Linked DNA regions of Homo sapiens: region 1 is linked to region 2. The links are contacts of gene promoters, found by promoter capture Hi-C in human tissues and cell types (Jung and others, 2019). All regions are on one chromosome and are shown on one strand. The core of a region is centred on a gene start or on the middle of the fragment in contact, and the rest is flanking DNA. Distances in the headings are between cores, read along the strand shown.

The links. Contacts are between HindIII fragments. The study calls those that stand out against the background at their distance.
Region 1: a fragment that was not itself captured here is called in contact with the fragment with the promoter of ASB16 in region 2 in 2 of the 25 tissues and cell types used here (dorsolateral prefrontal cortex and mesenchymal stem cells).

Annotation. Positions count from the first base shown.
Region 1 is chr17:44,057,355-44,064,764 of GRCh38, reverse strand. LSM12 (LSM12 homolog) reads left to right here. Exons shown (of 5, transcript NM_001371445.1): 2 at 831-964. Among named protein-coding and RNA genes, the nearest start is that of LSM12, 5.6 kb to the left of the region's middle. The HindIII fragment of the contact is 3,461 bases long and covers 1,974-5,434 here.
Region 2 is chr17:44,165,817-44,173,000 of GRCh38, reverse strand. It overlaps ASB16 (ankyrin repeat and SOCS box containing 16), which reads right to left and starts at 2,297. Exons shown (of 5, transcript NM_080863.5): 1 at 1,911-2,297; 2 at 688-955. The coding sequence starts at 2,211. The HindIII fragment of the contact is 17,920 bases long and covers 1-2,690 here.

The DNA of each region.
Region 1 (7,410 bases), core at 2,455-4,954, 110 kb after region 2:
TAACTAGGAATTACTTTTTTTTTTTTTTTTTTGAGACGGAGTCTCGCTCTGTCACCTAGGCTGGAGTGCAGTGGCACCATCTCGGCTCACTGCAACCTCCGCCTCCCGTGTTCAAGTGATTCTCCTGCCTCAGGCTCCAGAGTAGCTGGGATTACAGGCATGTGCCACCACACCCGGCTAATTTTTTTTTTTTTGGTAGTGACGGGGTTTTGCCACTTTGGCCAGGCTGGTCTTGAACTCCTGACCTCAAGTAATCTGCCCGCCTCAGCCTCCCAAAGTGTTGAGATTACAGGCGTGAGCCATCACGTGAGCCTGGCTGAATTACTCAACTTTTACTTGACATACAGTAGGCTCTTAAATGGTTGGAGAATGAGTTTGTGAATGAATGAATGGATTAACTGGCTGGGTCACCTTGGGTGAATTTCCTTTCCAGTGTGTAGTTTTCTCCTCTGCAAAATGGGAAAGCTCACATCTGAAAGAGTAAAAAGAATACTGTGCAGACACAGAGAGTATTATACGAAGAACAGAAAGGTCTAGCTCTTTTGTCTGGCTCATAGGTTCAAGACAAACGCATTAAATCTGCATTATGCCTCTCCATAAAGCCAGTAGAGAGAAAGTGACAGAACTCCTTTGGAAGCTTCCAAGGATTTGGGCAGGAGGAAGGTGACAGGCAGAGATTTCCTGAGGAGAACCGTGATTCTTATAAGGCCCTCATGCTCCTGGCCTGCCTTTTACAAGCCTTGTGTGAATCGTGTTTTCTATGCCCCTTTTGGGATGTGTCAGTGCCTCTGCTTGTCCTATTTTTCCTTAACTTTTTTTTTTCTCACCAGAATGTCCCTCTTCCAGTGGAAAGCCCAACCATGCAGACATCTTGCTCATAAACTTACAGTATGTTTCAGAAGTGGAAATAATTAATGACCGAACAGAAACCCCTCCTCCCCTAGCTTCACTCAATGTTAGTAAGGTAAGGACTCAAGGGCAGATCTGGCTCTCTAAAATGGTGGGAAAGATGAGTCTCATTGAGTCTTAGTGATACATTGTTGTCTATTTTTTATTTTTTAAAATTGACTTAAAATTGTTTGTTCTGATATCTTTTTAAAAAATGTAGGTTTAGTTTTTCTCTTTATTCCTGGATGTTATCAGTAGATCTTAAGAAGTAGCTTAACTCCCAAATAAGTTGAGAGCTTGCTTCTGCCTTTATGAAAGAGGACTTTTTAAATCTTGGAGTTCATGATGAACTAATAGTGCTGCTGGGGTTTGGGTGGTGGCGTTACCTATGAATGTCTTCAAATTGTGTATATGTGGATGTGTGCATACGTGAATATATGCATTTTCTGCTTGAAGATCTAAAGTGTTTTTCAGATTCTCGGAGGGTTTCATGACTTAGAAAAGTTTGAAAGCCACTGTCTTAAAGGTTCTTTTTTGTCTTTATGTTTGAATTTTGAGTTCTAACAGTTACATGCTTAGCATATTTTAATCTTGCACATAAAAGTTGATCTCTGGGAACCCCCAAGTCACTTTTGTGTGTGTATGTGTGAGACAGGGTCTTGCTTTGTTGCCCAGGTTGAACTTGAACGCCTGGGCTCAAGTGACCCTCCTGCCTCGGCCTTCTGAGTAGCTGGGATTACATGCATGCGTCACCATGCCTGCCCAAGTCTTTCTTTTTATTGGAGCCACTGCGCCCGGCGTTTTTTTTGAGACAGAGTCTCTCTGTGTCGCCCAGGCTGGAGTGCAGTGACGCGATCTCGGCTCACTGTAACCTCCGCCTCCCAGGTTAAGTGATTCTCGTGCCTCAGCCTCTGGAGTAGTTGGGACTACAGGTGTGTGCCACGACGCCTGGCCAAATTTTTTTTTTTTTTGGAGACAGGCACACACTGTCACACCCGGCTAATTTGTTTTATTTTAGTAGAGACGGGGTTTCATTCTGTTGCCCAGGCTGGTCTTGAACTCCTGAGCTCAGGCAGTCTGCTTGCCTCGGCCTCCCAAAGTGGTAAGATTATAGGTGTGAGCCACTGCTCCTGGCTCAATTTTTGTATTATTAGTAGAGATGGGGTTTCACCATGCTGGCCAGGCTGATCTTGAACTTCTGACCTCAAGTGATCTGCCTGCCTCAGCCTCCCAAAGTGCTGGGATTACAGGTGTCAGCCACCATGCCCGGCCCTAAGTCACTTTTTTGACAATTCCGTTTATTTAGTCAAAATTGAAGTTGATCATAATAATGCCTCAAGCCCTGTCATAGCCTGTGCTGTCCCCTGTACTTGGAACATTTTTCCTTCCAGAATGACTGGAGCCTTACCACCCATCAGCACTCAGTTAAATGGCACGTCTTCCAAGAAGTCTTCTCTGATCACCCAGGCTGAAGTAATTTGCCTGCATTATTCTCTCTCATAGTACCTTGTCCTTCACAGTTAAGGTGACCATATCATTTGTAGTCCAACCTGGGACATTTTTGAGAGTAAAGGGGAATGCTTTTATTTTACACAGGGACAACAGGTATAGATTAGGTTACCCTATTCATAGCTTTTTTTTTTTTTTTTTTTTTTGAGACGGAGTCTCGCTTTGTCGCCCAGGCTGGAGTGCAGTGGCGCCATCTCAGCTCACTGCAAGCTCCGCCTCCCGGGTTCATGCCATTCTCCTGCCTCAGCCTTCCTAGTAGCTGGGACTACAGGCGCCCGACACCACGCCCGGCTAACTTTTTTGTATTTTTAGTAGAGACGGGGTTTCACTGTGTTAGCCAGGACGGTCTCGATCTCCTGACTTTGTGATCCGCCCGCCTCGGCCTCCCAAAGTGCTGGGATTACAGGCGTGAGCCACCGCTCCTGGCCATAGTTGTTTACTTGTCTAGTGTCTGTCTCACTAAACTTTATTCTGCAGGGATGGGGACCATACCTATTTTATTTACTATTGAATATACAGAGCCTTGCACAGAGTATTTAATAAATATTTGTTGGATGAATAAGATGCCTCCAATTTTAGTAGCAGGTGCTTTTCATTAAGTCTCTTGAATTAATGTGGTGGAAGTTTTTCCCTCTAGAGGAATCTTGCAATAATGTGTATTACTTTGCCTCTCTTGGGAATGTGGTGTGTTCTGTACAGTTCAGCAAAGCAAGGAAACACTTAGGCAACTAAAATAATAGAGGGTAACTGATGCTGAGGCTAGTGAATGTCGTTACCTCAGATCTGGAGTTCCTATCTTGTCAGATTCTAGGGAAATGCCACACATTTTTTAGTGATGGCCAGGGACAGATTTGGAAGGCTATTGAGTTCATATGGGTGTTGTCTTGTATGGGATGTCCCATTCTTTGAAGCTTATAGGTTTTTGAAACCTTGGCTTAGTAATATACCTTCTACCAGAGTATAGGAGCTCTTTGAGTGTCTTCTATAAGCTCATGAAATTTTAAGACTTGTTAAATAATTTATTCCTTGGTGTTTTTTTTTTTTTTTTTTGAGATGGAGTTTCGCTCTTGTTGCCCAGGCTGGAGTGCAATGGTGCAACCTCGGCTCACCGCAACCTCCGCCTCCCGGGTTCAAGTGATTCTCCTGCCTCAGCCTCCTGAGTAGCTGGGATTACAGGCATGCACAGCCACACCCAGCTAATTTTGTATTTTTAGTAGAGACGGGGTTTCTCCGTGTTGGTCAGGCTGGTCTCGAACTCCCGACCTCAGGTGATCCGCCCGCCTCAGCCTCCCAAAGTGCTGGAATTACAGGCGTGAGCCACTGTGCCCAGCATTATTCCTAGTGTATTAAAGAACCAAATAGGCTCTGAGTTATTTTTTGGTGTTTATAGGGTATGATAAGTCTGTCACTAGATCTTTAGTGAGTAGTAAAGATCTGAAAGAGAGGTGATTTTCTGAAGTTAGAAAGTTGGCTCTTGTGACCAATGAGTGCCACCATTTAGAGGGGGTGGGGTAGTGTGGATGGGACTGTTAAGCAGGAGCTGTTAAGAAGCAGTTCTCTTCTTATGTTTGACCTCAGGTAGATATAGCTCTTGGTTAGTTTGTGGATTATCTTTGCCTTTAGGGTTTTCCTTGTTTACTAGCATTGTTGTAAACTAGCTGATTACCCAGTTTTTGAGGAAAGCAGCAGGAAGTAATAGCTTGGGGAACACCAGAAATCTTTACTTTTCTTACTCTGTGGCCTGCTTGCCAAATCTTGAAAGAGGTTTGCTGGGAAGAGGAGTCAGAAACTAAAAACTAAAATTAGGTTGGAGGGTTATCTTTGGATTTCGTTTATTCATTCTTCCGTTTGCAGAGATGTTTATGAGTAAGCTATATTGGCTTTCCCTTGAAATCAACCTTTTAGGATGCTTTGCGATTCCTTTTTGGAGATTGACTTAGAATTAGAGAGAGCCTTTTGGGCTACTGCTGAAAACAGCTATTTCGGGCAGCTATTAACATGTTGCATGAATGACGTGAAAAGTTAGTCTCATTTTTAAGATCACGGACTTGAGTTTTTCTTAAGATGGAGGATCATTTAAGCATATGGAAGGGAACTAATGTACTCTGGGATGTCTGGAAGAAAACTGTTGAAGTTTCAGTTGCTTGCAGTCTGGAGAAGCACTAGCCTACTCTATTTATTTTATTTTATTTATTTATTTTTTGAGACGAAGTCTTGCTCTGTCGCCCAGGCTGGAGTGCAGTGGCGCCATCTCGGCTCACTGCAAGCTCCACCTCCCGGGTTCATGCCATTCTCCTGCCTCAGCCTCCCGAGTAGCTGGGACTACAGGCGCCCGCCACCATGTCCGGCTAATTTTTTTGTATTTTTAGTAGAGACGGGGTTTCACCATGTTGGCCAGGATGGTCTCGATCTCCTGACCTTGTGATCCGCCCGCCTCGGCCTCCCAAAGTGCTGGGATTACAGGCTTGAGCCACCACACCCGGCCTACTCTAACTTTAGTCAAAGGTATCATCACATATTGGCCCATCTTGCTGACATAGTAAGTGATCTGCTTAATTAAACCTGTTGATAAAAACCGGATATTTGTTGACTCTGACCTAGCAGGAAATGGAAGAGAAGGGCTTATACAGGAAATACTTAATAATAGCTCAACTAGGGAAGGTATAAACTAGCAACTTCTTGGAAATTGGCCTGTTTTGCTTTCGAATGATAGTTCACTTCAGGCTAAGAAGTCTTATTTCTATCTCCAGCAGTAGCATGTAAGAGGAAGCTTGAGAGAGGACAGTAGGGTTGCAGTAGGGGGAATTCTTTTTTTTGAGACAGGGTCTCAGTCCATTGCCCGGTGTGATCTCGGTTCAAGCGATTCTCCTGTCTCAGCCTCCTGAGTAGCTGGGATTACAGGCGCCTGCTGCCACCATGCCCGGCTAATTTTTCTATTTTTAGTAGAGATGGGGTTTTGCCGTGTTGACCAGGCTGGCCTTGAACTCCTGACCTCAGATAATCCACCTGCGTCGGCCTCCTAAAGTGTTAGGATTATAGGCGTGAGCCACTGCACCTGGCCAAGTCCCCTGTTTTTCTATTACTTTGTGTTTAGCCCAAGGAACTCATAGTTTGGCAACATGAAGTACCCTGAATAATGTACAATGCTAAGTTATGTTTCGTGTGTGTGTGTATGTGTGTGTGTGTGTTCTGTTTTTTAGAGATATAGTCTCATTCTGTTGACCAGGCTAGAGTGCAGTGGCATGATCATAACTCACTGCAGCTTCGAACTCCTGGCTCATAGCCTCAAGTGATCCGCCCAAGCTTCCTGAGTAGCTGGGACTACAATCTCCCATCACCACACCTGGGTGGTTGTTTTGTTTCTTTTTAGTTAGTCTCGCACTGTGCCCAGGCTGGAGTGCAAATGATGCAGTCACAGCTCACCGCAGCCTCGACCTCCAGGGTTCGCTCAAGTGATCTTTCCACCTCGCCTCCCAAGTAGCTGGGACTACCGGCACAAACCACCACACCTGGCTAATTTTTCTTTCTTTTTTGAGATGGAGTCTTGCCCTGTTGCCCAGGCTGGAGTGCGGTGGTGCCGTGATCTCGGCTCACTGCAACCTCTGCCTCCTAGGTTCAAGCAATTCTCCTGCCTCAGCCTCCTAAGTAGCTGGGATTACAGGCGTGCGCCACCATGCCTGGCTAATTTTTTGTATCTTTAGTAGAGATGGGGTTTCACCATGTTGACCAGGCTGATCTCGAACTCCTGACCTCATGATCCACCCGCCTTGGCCTCCCAAAGTGCTGGGTTTACAGGCGTGAGCCACCGCGCCCAGCCTAGTTTTTTTTTGTAGAGACAGGGTCTTACTGTGTGGCCCAGGATGGTCTGTAACTCCTGGGCTCAAGCAATCCTCCTTCCTCGGCTTCCCAAAGTATTCGAATTACAGGTATGAGCCACTGGCCCAGCCCCTAGGTAACGTTTCTAAGTAAAGAAAAACATCTATGTTCTGTGGTCAGGGGCAGGGTAGTCTAGTAGAAAAGACTTAGGAATGAACCAAGTAGATCAGTCTTTAAAGTCATTAGACTTGGCAGATGTTAGTTAATGTCTCCCAAATTATTATTATTATTATTATTATTTATTATTTTTTTTTTGAGACGGAGTCTTGCTCAGTCGCCCAGGCTGGAGTGCAGTGGCGCGATCTCGGCTCACTGCAAGCTCCGCCTCCTGGGTTCACGCCATTCTCCTGCCTCAGCCTCCCGAGTAGCTGGGACTACAGGCGCCCACCACCACGCCCAGCTAATTTTTTTGTATTTTTAGTAGAGACAGGGTTTCCCCGTGTTAGCTAGGATGGTCTCAATCTCCTGACCTCATGATCCCCCCATCTCAGCCTCCCAAAGTGCTGGGATTACAGGCGTGAGCCACTGTGCCCGGCCCAGATTTTTTTATTGTAGCTAACTAATGCTCATTGAATTATGGGATGAGATAAGGCAGGGGAAGGAGGGCATTGTGACAAAGGGCCCATAGAAGATTTATGCCATTACACTAGGCTCTCACTTAACGTCTTTGGTAGGTTCTTGGAAACTTTGACTTTATGTATTATTATTATTATTATTACTTTGTTTTTTTTTTGAGACAGAGTCTCCGTCTGTCTCCCAGGCTATAATGCAGTAGTGCTGTCTCAGCTCACTGCAACCTCTGCCTCCCAGGTTCAAGCAGTTCTCTACCTCAGCCTCCGGAGTAGCTGGGATTCCAGGCATCTGCCACCACAGCTGGCTAATTTTTGTATTTTTGGTAGAGACAGGGTTTCACCATCTTGGCCAGGGTGGTCTTGAACTCCTGACCTCATGATCCGCCCACCTCCGCCTCCCAAAGTGCTGGGATTACAGGCGTGAGCCACTGTACCTGGCACATTATTATTTATTTTTTTAAGATGAAGTCTCACCCAGGCACGGTGGCTCACGCCTGTAGTCCTAGCACTTTGAGAGGCCGAGGCGGGCGGATCACGAGGTCAGGAGATCAAGACCATCCTGGCT
Region 2 (7,184 bases), core at 1,048-3,547:
GACCTACTAGTAGCTGGAATTACAGGTGTGAGCCACCACACCTGGCCAGATCTTTCTTAATACCTCAAAACAACTAGGAATTTGGGCTGGGCATGGTGGCTCACGCCTGTAATCCCAGCACTTTGGGAGGCCAAGGTGGGTGGATCACTTGAGGACAGGAGTTCAAGACCAGCCTGGCCAACATGGCAAAACCCCATCTCCACTAGAAATGCAAAACCTAGCCAGGTGTGGTGGCACACACCTGTAATTCCAGCTACTTGGGAGGCTGAGGCATTTGAACCCAGGAGGCAGAGGTTGCAGTGAGCTGAGACCACGCCACTGCACTACAGCCTGGGCAACAGAGCAAGACTTCGTCTCAAAAAACAAAAAAAAACAGCTAGGTTTGGCTACAAAGGATTCACAGGGTATTGGAGACTGCAGTTGGAACAGAGTTTTCCCAAAAAGCAACAGGGCTTCTGCCTCCTGGGCTTAGCAGATGTGACCTTGGACAAGTTACTAAGCCTTTCTGAGCTTCATTTTTCTCATCTGTAGGATGAGGTGTCTCCAGGTTATTGTGAAGATGTGTATATGCGGTGCTTTATGAACCACAAAGCTGCATGTGGTTGTCAGGTTCCCTCTTCTGGCCTTGTGAGCTGGAGACACACACACACATTTCTCCCCAAACTGTCTCAGCCCCCAGGCACCTACTGCAAGGACTCGGGGATCGTGCAGAGGTGCAAAGGAGTCGTGCCCTCCTCAGTCAGCACATTAGCCTTGGCTCCGAAGGTCAGCAGCAGCCGCACACAGTCAAACTGGGCTCGGGCACAGGCCTCATGCAAGGCAGCGCGACCCCCGACACGGGCATCCAGCTCAGCTCCCTGCCGGATCAGGTGTCGAGCACAGTCTGTGTAGCCTCGGGCTGTAGCGATGGCGAGGGGTGCCGTCTGCTTGGTCTTGGGGGTCAGCACCCAGAACCCTAGGGAGAGCAAATAGTTTTGGGAGGTGGTGTATAAGACAGGGCAGGGCAGGGAGTGGGGATGCTGGTTCCAGCTGACAGCTGACACTGGCCTTCCCTCTGCATGGTTTGCTGAGCACAAACACTGCCAGGCTGTACCTGTGGAAGGGGGCTTATTCAAGTCCTGAAGTGGAAGAATAAATTGGAACAGCCTTTTAATACAGCTTATCAATCTGTAACAAAACATAGTATGTGTCATAAAAAAATTAATTGCTGTATAAAACCACAGGGGCCAACTAAGTAGAGTGACTCCCATTAAGGAAATCTCAGCGTCTTTGAATGGCTAATAGTGTCAAAGGCTTGTTCACCTTGGGGCCTGGGGTGGTGGCTCACACCTGTAATCCTAGCACTTTGGGAGGCCAAGGCGGGATGATCACTTGACCTCAGGAGTTCGAGATGAGCCTGGGCAACATAGTGAGACCTTGTCTCTTTTTTTTTTTTTTTTAGGCAGGGTCTCGCTCTGTCCCCCAGGCTGGAATGCAGTGGCGCTATCTTGGCTCACTGCAAGCTCCGCCTCCCGGGTTTAAGTGATTCTTCTGCCTCAGCTGCTGAGTAGCTGGGATTACAGGTGCGCACCACCATGCCCGGCTAATTTTTCTATTTTTAGTAGAGATGGGGTTTTACCATGTTGGTCAGGCTGGTCTCAAACTTCTGACTTCGTGATCCGCCTGCCTTGGCCTCCCAAAGTGCTGGGATTACAGGCGTGAGCCACTGTGCCCGGTCAACTTTTAATTCTTAAAAGACATACAGACTGCTAACCCTGCCTCATCTCTGTTTAGGAGGGAGCTAGGATAGGTGGTGGAAAGGGCTGCTATAGTCTGTGGTCTGCAGGGAAGGAGGGGCCTAGACTCTCCCCCTTCCCCACCCACTCCCCTTCTTTCTCCCTCCTCTTCTGCCCTCTTCTGGTGCCCCCTACCCTGTTCAGCCGACCAGGCCAGCTGGTTGCTCACAGTCTCCACAATCATGTTGGCGGCCTCTTCATCTTGGAACAGGGCTTGGACCTGCTGCAGGTTGCCGGAGAAGAGGGCTTGGTGGACAGCTGGGTCTCGGCAGGAACGGTGAGGCCTAGTGAGTCGGGCCCGGGGACTTGACGGGCACCTGCGGCTCCGGCACTGCTGGGCAGCCGCCCGCCGCCGGTCCTCCCATTCCAGCCACTCCTGCTGCAGGCGGAGAGAGCGCAGCATGGAGGAGGTGAAGGGGAAGGTCTCTCTTGCCATGGATGGGGCCCAGGGGTTTGGGCAGTGGCACCTGGGCAGAGCCAGGTTCCCTCGACCCGACTACCTCCCTTGCTCTGAGGAGCCACCCTGCCCCCGCCACCGTGAGCCAGAGAAAGCAGCAGCTGAGGCTATAAATAGGTCCTTTGCTGCTCTGGTAAACATGGTTTGCTCAGAGTCATGATCCTGGTGCTGAGAAGCTGCTGGCCCAACCCCCAGCCCAGGGTGAGGGCCAGCCCCTGCCCCTGCCGATACCCTTTGGTTGGTCAGCAGGCCCTCAGCTGAGGCCACCCCCGAACCCCAGCATCTGCATCCACCTTCATCTCTAGAGCGAGCATCTTGGGTTGGCAAGGTCCAGGGTGCGCAAAAAGGTCAGTCATGGAGATGGGCAGGGCTGGGAGGAAGACAAGGTGCCTCCAGCCTCTCTGATGTTGGCTGGAGGGCAGGAGCCACCATTGGCCCACGTGGAGGAGAGAGGGCTGACCTCAGCACAGGAGGTAAGGGGAGGTCAAGGCAGAGTTACTGAGAAGGTGAGCAGCTCTTCCCAGCATCTGCAGTAACAGCAATAACTCTGTACATATGCACAGAGTTTCACGGTGTTTAAATCACATTCATATCCACCTTCACCCAGGGGATCATACTTCCCAGCCCACCCAATAATTAGTAAACTTGGTTTGGACAATAAATGAAATTATCACAGTTGAATGCCCCTGAGATGGGTGGTCTTATCTCTGTTTTACAGATGAGGAATTTAAGGCTTAACAAAGTAATCTACTGGCTCAAGGTCACAGTTTGTGAGAGGCAGAGCCAGGACCCCACATAGATGGTGTGCTTTGGGCCAAGAATGGTGGCTCATGCCTGTAATCCTAGCACTTTGGGAGGCCAAGACAGGAGGATTGCTTGAGCCTAGGAGTTTGAGACAATCCTGGGCAACACAGTGAGACCTATATCTTTTTTTTTTTTTTTTTTTTTTTTGAGACAGAGTCTCACCCTGTCTCCCATGCTGGAGTGCAATGGCACGATCTTGGCTCACTGCAACCTCCGCCTCCCGGGCTCAAACGATTCTCTTGCCTCAGCCTCCTGAGTAGCTGGGATTATAGGCACCCGCCACCATGCCCAGCTAAATTTTGTATTTTTAGTAGAGATTTAATTTAGGGTTTCACCATGTTGGCCAGGCTGGTCTCGAACTCCTGACCTCGTGGTCTGCCCGCCTCGGCCTCCCAAAGTGCTAGGATTATAGGCGTGAGCCACCACCCCCTGCCTCTCCATCTCTTAAAAAAAGAAGAAAAAAAAAAAAAGATGGTACACTTTTTGCCTTCAGCTGCTGCAGCCACCTGGCAGCCTCCCCCATTCTCCAAGCAGGACAGACTAGTCTGTAGAAACTGCCTTCAATCATCCTTTTTTTTTTTTTCTCATGGTGTCACCCAGTCTGGAGTGCAGTGGGGTGATCTCGGCTCACTGAAACCTCCGTTTCCTGGGGTTCAAGTGATTCTCCTGCCTTAGCTGCCTGAGTAGCTGGGATTATAGGTGCATGCCACCATGCCCAGCTGATTTTTGTATTTTTATTTATTATTATTTTTTTTTTGAGATGGAGTCTCGCTCTGTCACCCAGGCTGGAGTGCAGTGGCGCGACCTCGGCTCACTGCAAGCTCCGCCTCCCGGGTTCACGCCATTCTCCTGCCTCAGCCTCCCGAGTAGCTGGGACCACAGGCGCCTGCCACCACACCTGGCTAATTTTTTGTATTTTTAGTAGAGACAAGGTTTCGCCGTATTAGCCAAGAATAGGATGGTTTCGATCTCCTGACCTCGTGATCCGCCCGCCTCGGCCTCCCAAAGTGCTGGGATCACAGGCGTGAGCCACCGCGCCCGGCCGATTTTTGTATTTTTAGTAGTCGGTTTCGCCATGTTGGCCAGGCTGGTCTGAAACTCCTGACTTCAGGCGATCTGCCCGCCTCGGCCCCCCAAAGTGTTGGTATTACAGGCGTGAGCCACAGCTCCCAGCACCTTCAATCATCCTTGATTTATTTTTTTAACCCAGCTGCTAAGGGGGCTCACATGGCCGGCCTGAGGAGAGCCAAGGGGTTGAGCTGGAAACTCTGGGAATGGACCTAAGATGTTTAAGCCACAGACCTGTTCACTCTTAGGAGAAAGCAGCTGTGCTTCCAGGAGCCTCTAGGGGGAGGAATGAAGCCGTGAAACCACACAAGCTGGTGTGCCTGCCAAGCTGGGGAAGGGGAGGGCTCAAAAGCTCTGCTCACCCTGAGCTCACTCAGTGCACAGCGGCCTGCAGGCAGGGCTGGTCTGTCCCCTCTGCATCTGGGGCTCCTCCTGGCCCTTCTCCCGCTGCCTGTCCTGCCTCCTGGCCCTGCAGCAGCACCTTGCCCAGTGATCTTTTATTTCTTCCTCTCCCTAGGCCCTTCCCATAAGCAAGTTCTAGCTCCTGTTCTTACATTTTCAGGGACTGTCTCAAGTTCAGCCCCTCGATGTAATGCCTTAAACCTGGATCAACTCAGTCTTTCACCTGGTGTTTCTTCCTCTGGCCATATCCCTTCTGCTCCGCTGCCGGAATGATCTGTCTAAAATGGTTAATTCCCTTGCTTAAAAACTTCTGCTGCCTTCCAATACCTGTCCTTTCATTTTTTTAAAATAGGGCTCCAAATCCTGGCCTCAAGCAGTCCTCCCAAGTCAGCCTCCTGAATTGCTGGGATTACAGGTGTGAGCCACTGCACCTGGCCTGCCCTTTTCAACTAAGCCCCCAATTCCTTGGTTTGGCCCCATGCCACTCACGTAGGGTAGGCATCCTCATCACGCACGGCTCCCCACAACCGTTCCCTGTCAGGCCATTCCCTTAGCTCAGAATTCCCTCAACACCTTCCTGAGGATCTACCCCTAAGGTCACCTGCTCTGAGAGGTCTCTTCAGCAACCCATTGCCTGACTCTTATAGTTCCAGCCACTGCCCAATCTGCACTCCTGAAGGACTCAGGGGCACGCTGTAAAGCACCTATCTATGCTGTTGATGTGGGTCTGCCATGCTGGATGTGGGCTCCAGAGCAGGCCCTGGCAGTCAGAGCACTTGGCTCATGGCAGGCGGGCCTCTTATGTGTAGTGCATTGAACGAAGGTCCCTGTTCTCTGCCAGAGCAAACATCCATCCACCCGCCCGCCCAAGTGGGTGGCAGCAGCCTGGGCTTTTTCCGGCATTGCCCCTACTCTACTGTTCACCTACTCTCTGCCTGGCTCCAGCCTCTTGGTGGCAGTCCAGGGTGGGGGATCCCAGAGGAGGAATTAGATCATACAAAGCAAAGCCTGGAGGTCCTCAGAGAAAGATGCCTCTATAAATGCAGCCTTGATGAACCCTGTTGGCACCCATTTGGTGTGTTAATTGCCACATCAACGGCCTGGCTGGGCACCCACAGCTGGGTTCCCAGGGTTGAGAATCTGGCAAGGCTGGGTGAGACCAAGAGAGGCCAAGGCAGGTGGGTGTCCCCTTCCTCCCTGAGGCACACAAGAGTCATAGCCTAGCCCCTCCCCTGCCTTCTTGCCACACAGACCTGAAGGAGCTAGGTACCCTAACAGCTTAGTCCCAAGATACCACTGTATTCAGTCCCCTTGTCTGTAGAGTTAGCTTCCTGAGGGCAGAGAAAGGAGGCCTTGACTTCAACCTGGAGGGAACAGGGCCAGGTGATCAGATGCCCAGCCTGCCTTCTGGGATCTCAGAGCCTGTGGGGTAGTGAAGCACACAAGAAGCCAGGATGTGAGCGTGGGATTGATCAGGACTGAGCAGGGGGACCGGGGCTCATGGGTGTCAAGAATGGGGAATAGGCCCAGGGCAGAGGGGAGCTTTTATTTTTTTAGAGACGAAATCTCCCTATGTTGCCCAGGCTGGTCTCAATCTTCTAGGCTCAAGTGATTCTCTCACCTCAGCCTCCCAAGTGGCTGGGACTACAGGTGCATGCTGCCACTCCCAGCTGTGGGGGTTTAGGTGCAGGAAGATCCCAGTGTAGATGGGGAGTTAGCAGGGAGTGGAAGGTGGGAGAGAAGGAAATGTATGGTAGGTTCAGGTAGAAAAACCCAATGGGAATGTGAAGGGACCAGGGTGCAGGGGAATTAGCCCCTTCTTGCCCTGGCCTTGTGGCACAAAAGCCTCTAGAACAGGGCCCTGCTGTAATCAGCAGGTAAGTGAACATGGAGTTCTCAAAGCACTTACTCACTTCAGCCTTAAGACTGGGATCCAGTGGGGCACTGTGGCTCACACCTGTAATCCCAGCACTTTGGGAGGCTGAGGTGGGAAGGATCACTTGAGCCCGGGAGTTCAAGACCAGTCTGGAGAACACAGCAAGACTCCATCTCTACAGAAAAATGTTGTTAATTAGCTAGGCGTGGTGGCACGCACCAGTAGTCTGTTACTTGGGAGGCTGAGATGGGAGGACTGCTTAAGCCTAGGAGATCGAGGCTGCAGTGAGCCATGATCACACCACTGCACTGCACTCCAGTTTGGTGACAGAGTGAGACCATGTCTCTAAAACGACGACAACAACAACAACAAAACTGGAATCCATGGGATCAGCCTCTTTGGGAAAAGGAGATTAACGCTTCCCCCCAGAGGAGTGCCAAGCCCATGCCCATGGAAGGCCTCTGTCTCCTAGCTGCTTAGTGCAGGCTGAGGCTAAGGCAGGAGGGGCTGGCTGTCAAACAGGGCTATTTATTATTTTATTTACTTATTCAAGAGATAGCATCTCACCACCTTGCTCAGGCTGGGCTTGAACTCCTGGGCCCAAGGGATCCTCCCACCTCGGCCTCCCAAAGTGCTGGGATTACAGGCATGAGCCTCCACACCTGGCCCAAACCGGGCTCTTTAACCTGCCTCCTCTTGCCCATGAGTTGGGAGAGTTTTCCCAACTCCTCCTTCCAGAAAGGAAAACAAGGTTGGCAACTTGGTATAATTAGACCTTTTACACCCCACCCATGCCTCTTGT